2 separate regions of the Homo sapiens genome follow, and region 2 is linked to region 1. The links are contacts of gene promoters, found by promoter capture Hi-C in blood cells and fetal thymus (Javierre and others, 2016). All regions are on one chromosome and are shown on one strand. The core of a region is centred on a gene start or on the middle of the fragment in contact, and the rest is flanking DNA. Distances in the headings are between cores, read along the strand shown.

Region 1 (2,726 bases), core at 177-2,676:
CTGCAGCCTCGACCACCTGGCCTCAAGCGATCCTCCCACTTCATCCTCCCAAAGTGCTGGGATTACAGGCGTGAGCCACCTTGCAGGGGCCCAACCCTTTGCCTGACAGAATCCTCGGAGGATCTCTTCCTGTGTGGGGTGTTTCAGCTGGGCGCTCATGTCCCCAGGAGCACTATGGGAATGCAGTGTTCTGGGTTTCAGGGCTCCACACGATGCCTGTGTAGACAAAGAGCCCACCCAGGTCATTCCAGCTCCCCTCCTCACTAGGACCCTGCCTCTTCCGCCTGCTGCTCTCTGCTCAGCACCCAGCCAGCCCTGTAATGGAACAGGACTCCGTCAGCGGGCTAAGTGAGGCCACAGGCGTTTCTTCCAAGCCACAGACTGGGCCAACCAGGGCCCAAAGCACAGATCAGAAACGGCACCCAAAGGGCTGCCCCACTCTGTTCTGGAGAGGAGCCCTTAAGAAGATGGGACCATGTGTGGCTGAGTGAGGTGGCTGCCCCATCCTGCGCTGGGGCAGGGAGTGACAGAAATGGCCTCCCATGGCCCCTCCCTGTCCTCATCTTTGCTTTCCATACATCCTGCCGCACCCCCTTGGGTCCTCATCATGGGAGCAGCCAGTTCACAAACAACAGAGCCCCTCCCATGCTCTGCCCACAGCCCCCCATTACCCCTCTGGCCTGGGATTCCTGCGCTGCGTCTGCTCTCCGGAGGGTCCCTAGTTTCGTGATCACTCCCTTCCAGTCTCTCTCATCAACACACGCTAACCTCACAGATAGGCTCCACTGCCCTAGCGGGAACCTGGACCCCACCCCACCTGGACCTCAAGCTGGCCCGGAAGACCAGGTCCCAGCCTCAGACCCTGGCACCTGGGCCACTCAGTACTCTGTTGCGCTTCGGGACCACAGGGCCTGGGACCCCTGAGGCACCCCCCAACACACACACATACACTCAACTCCCAGGTTTCCACCTCAGACCTAGGCACCGGGTCCCTCAGTTTGGCTCCCTGGAGCAGGCCCCAGCCCACACCAGTCCTGCCAGCCCCTAAGACACAGGAGTTTCTCCAGCCTAAGCCTCTGAGCAGCTGTGCGAGGGACAGGGGAGGTGGTCCCCCGAAGCCCAGGTGGGAGACCAAGGTCGCTGCCCCAAGTGCCTTCCCGAGCCCGCAGCCACGCTGCAGAGAGGGGCTTGCAGATCTGTCCCCACCAGACAAAGTCTGGAGGTTTTTGGTGGGGTCTCAGCCGACAGCCCGGGACGGCAAACCTCCTCGCCTTTCTCCACTCGGGGCGCCCGGCAGCCCCCGCCCCAGAACTCACCTCCGCCCTCCCGACAGCTCCAGCCCCGTCCAGCCGCCGCGATCCCGGGCCCGCAGCTCGTTGGCCGTGCCCGCTGCGGCGGCCGCAGCCCTCGACGTGCGCCCGGCCCTGAGGCCTCCCGCCTCCTCGCGCCGCCCACCCCGCCCGCCGCCCCCTCCCCCAGGCCGGATGGCCGCGCCGCCTGCGCCGCCGGGTCGGCCCGCGCTCCCGGCCCAGATGTGCGAGGCCGGGGCGGGGCCTGCCTGCGCGGGCCTCCGCCGAGGGGCCCAGCCTGGTCCCGCGTCCAGGGCCCCTCCCTGAGCCCCTCCTGCGCCTCCCCCGCTCCCCTAGCAGCCCAGGGGGTGGGAGAAGGGAGAGGGGGCGGCGGAGGGAGGGGAAGAGGAGTTCCAGACCCTGGTCGGCCTCCTGCGGTCCAGCTGCTGAGGGGCTCCCCCGCCCCGCCCCCACAGGCCCACCTTGGGGCTCAGCCTCGGCCCCTTCAGCGAGGGCCCAACAGCGGAGGGGGAAGGGCCCGCCCTAGACCCCTCCACTTCCCTGCCCCAGACCCCTCCAGTCCCTTGACCCGGAACCCTCTCTCCTCCCACCCCTACTGCCCCTACAGCTTCCCTAGCCCGGTCCTCAGTGGCCAGAAAAGAGGCAGAATTGCGGATGAGGGCAGGCCCTCGGGTCCCCAGGCTAGGCCTAGCTCTGTCTTTGCTCAAGTTCAGACGACGGAGGCGCGGAGTCTCACAGACTGAGGCCCCATGCCCGGCAAGGGGACCACTCCGCACCAGGGGGCACCCAGCCTCTCCTCCGAGGCACACAGCCTTTTTCTTGTCCTAACCGGGGCCCTTCTGGGGATGCTGGGACTTGGCCTCCAGACAGGGGGTTTGTGGGGTGAAGGTCTCTTTCTGGGCTGGGAACCCGTGGCTCATGCCTGTAATCCAGCGCTTTGGGAGTCTGAGGTGGGAGGATGGCTTGAAGCTGGCTGGGCAACAAAGACCAGCCTGGGCAACAAAGGGAGACCCTGTCTCTAAAAAGTTTTAAAAATTAGCCAGGTGTAGTAGCTCACGTCTGTAGTCCTAGGTACTCAGGAGGCTGGGGTGGAGGATTGCTTGAGCCCAAGAGTTTGAGGCTGCAGTAAGTGTGATCACACCACCGCACTCCAGCTTGGGTGACAGAGAGAGAACCTGTCATAAATAAATGAATGAACGGATGAATGAATGAATTTCTGCTAGGTCCCTCGTGGAGCTTTCAAAGGCAGCTGACTCGTTCTGCCTGTTCCCCTTCCCCTCTGCCCCATGTGCCCCCACAGAAGTTCCAGATGCTTCTCAGTCCACCTCCCTTTGTGCCTGGGAAGGCTGCCCGTCAGAGAAGGGCCCCACAGCCCCATCAAATGAGGCACAGTTCTTGGGACATCCCTTTTGCTCT
Region 2 (2,700 bases), core at 65-2,564, 470 kb before region 1:
ATGCTTGTAATCCCAGCACTTTGGAAGGCCGAGGCGGGCGGATCACTTGAGGCCAGGAGCTCAAGACCAGCCTGGCCAACATGGGGAAACCCTGTCTCTACTCAAAATACAAAAAAATTAGCCGGGCATGGTGGCAGGTGCCTGTATTCCCAGCTACTCAGGAGGCTGAGGCAGGAGAATCGCGTGAAACCAGGAGGCAGAGGTTGCAGTAAGCCAAGATCAGGCCGTTGCAATCCAGCCTTGGCAACAAGAGCGAAACTCCGTCTCAAAAAAAAAAAAAAAAAAAATTAAAATTAAAATTAAAAAAAAGATCAGATAAGAAAAATGTATTATATATAAAAATGCATGAGCTACTACCTCACACAACGACATAATGCATCTCATGAATATAATGCTTCACAAAAGAAGCCAAGCTTCAAAGAACACATTCTGTGAGATTCCAAATATGGAAAGTTCGTGATAGGCAAACAAATTAAAAATGATAGTGTTAGAAGTCAAGTCCTTTTGAAAGTGGGAGGAACTTATGTTTCATGAAAGGGGCTTTGGTAGTGCTGGCCATGTCTCATTTCTTTACCTGCCTCATGGCACAAAGCTGTTCACTCTGATAATTCATCACACATTTATATTTTGAGTAATTATCTCCATGAAGCAGGTTCACTGTGCACTTAGTTACCAACTTGTCTGAGTCCAGTGAGACAAAACACCCACATATGCAACAAGTTACATGAAGAGGATCTATTACTTACAGATAGGCACCAAGGGATAACAGAAGCCTAGGGTTCATTGTGAGCTGGTCACCTAAGGCTCAGGAAAGCAGCCTGGGGCAGATGGAGTCTCAACTGTGCATGCCCCACTTGCACTGCAGCTGAGGGCTCCCAAGAAGCAGCCCACCTGGGCTTTATACCCCGGAGATACATGATTCACTGGACTAAAGTGTTGAAGGACATCCTGTTTCTTTTTTTTTTTTTTTTCTTGAGACGGAGTCTCGTTCTGTGGTCAAGACTGGAGTGCAGTGGCACGATCTCGGATCACTGCAACCTCCGCCTCCCAGGTTCAAGCGATTTCCCTGCCTGGCCTCCCAAGTAGCTGGGATTACAGGCGTCCAACATCACACCAGGCTAATTTTTTGTATTTTAGTAGAGACGGGGTTTCACCATGTTGGCCAGGTTGGTCTTGAACTCCTGACCTCAGGTGATCCACCCACCTCAGCCTCCCAAAGTGCTGGGATTACAGGCGTGAGCCACCGAGCCCAGACAGGACATCCTGTTTCTGACAAGGACTGGAACAGAGCGCAGGCAGTTGCAGCCAATCCCTCCTTATCACAGGATGTTACATTCCCAGCACATTCTACAGTTATTTTGAGAACTACAAGCAAGAAAGGGGGAAGAGCTGGGTTGGTCCAAGGCCACCAGGAGAACTGTCCTGCACTCTGTATGCTATGTTTCAGTATACAAAGTTGAAGAAAGGCCAGGTGCAGTGTCTCATGCCTGTAATCCTAACACTTTGGGAGGCCAAGTCAGGAGGACTGCTTGAGCCCAGGAGTTCAAAGTGGAAGCCTGGGCAACACAGTGAGACCTTCACTCTAGAAATAATTTTAAAAATTAGCTAGGTGTGGTGGTGCATGCCTGTGGCCCCAGCTACTCAGGAGGCTGAGGTGGGAGGATGGCTTGAGCCCAGAAGATTGAGGCTGCAGTGAGCCATGATCACACCACTGCACTCCAGACTGGGGGACAGAGCAACAGCCTGTCTGGGAAAAAAAAAAAAAGTTGAAGTAAAAATGAGAAAGAATCATAGACCAAAGAGATTTAGGATATAGCAATGGTTCCTAATCAAATCTGTCTATGATGATTCAGGCTGGGCACACCTATAATCCCATCACTTTGGGAGGCAGAGGGGGGTGGACAACTTGAGGTCAGGAGTTCCAGACCAGCCTGGCCAACATGATGAAACCCTATCCCTACTAAAAATAAAAAAAAAAAAAAAAAAAAAAGCCAGGCATAGTGCAGCGTGCCTGTAATCCCAGCTGCTCCCAGAGGCTAAGGCAGGAGAATCACTTGAACCCGGGAGGCGGAGGTTGCAGTGAGCCAAGATAGGCCACTGCACTCCAGCTTGGGTGACAGAGTGAGACTCCATTTCAAAAAAAAGAAAGAAAAAAACATCTCTCTTTGATGATTCAGAAGGTAATCTTCATGCCTCACAGGCATTGCTAAGCTTTTTTATTGAATCCTGGAAGTGTGAAAATTTGATGGTGGAGAATATATTGTAACATAATAACTGTGCAAGGACATAAAATGGCAAGTTTAAGGAAATAGACGTGCGGACAAATTGTCCAAAAAGTTATTCCTAAAATATGGCATACCCCGTGAAATTGATTAATCTGGGTAAGTTCACTGTCCCAGAACCTCTTGAATAAAAGGAAGGCTGGGTACACTTGCCCCACATGCTTTGTTTTGTAAACATCTTCGTTCTACAAAAGTATCTGTGTGATTGTTCACTAGGTAGGAAAAAAAACCTTTCAGAGATTAAAAAACACTGATCACAGTGGGGGCCATGTAGCTAGTAAGTTAATGGAGCTTTGACCGAAGGCTGTCTTGCAGTAGCCCAAGAAATCTGAACCCCTGCAGGGTTAGTTCCCCAGTTCCTGCCTGAAGAGCAAAGGCAGATATCGTTCGCAACAGTCAAGCTCATCTCTTTGGCCCC

The links. The method cuts DNA at HindIII sites, captures the fragments that hold promoters and counts their contacts. A CHiCAGO score of 5 or more calls a contact.
Region 2: a fragment that was not itself captured here is called in contact with the fragment with the promoter of HSPA12B in region 1 in 1 of 17 cell types (neutrophils); the score reaches 5.1 in neutrophils.

The regions. Positions count from the first base shown.
Region 1 is chr20:3,731,385-3,734,110 of GRCh38, reverse strand. It overlaps HSPA12B (heat shock protein family A (Hsp70) member 12B), which reads right to left and starts at 1,426. Exons shown (of 13, transcript NM_052970.5): 1 at 1,317-1,426. RefSeq lists an enhancer at 785-1,364. The HindIII fragment of the contact is 6,119 bases long and covers 1-2,726 here.
Region 2 is chr20:4,200,831-4,203,530 of GRCh38, reverse strand. No RefSeq gene overlaps it. Among named protein-coding and RNA genes, the nearest start is that of LINC01433, 9.1 kb to the right of the region's middle. RefSeq lists a silencer at 1,252-1,452. The HindIII fragment of the contact is 1,798 bases long and covers 416-2,213 here.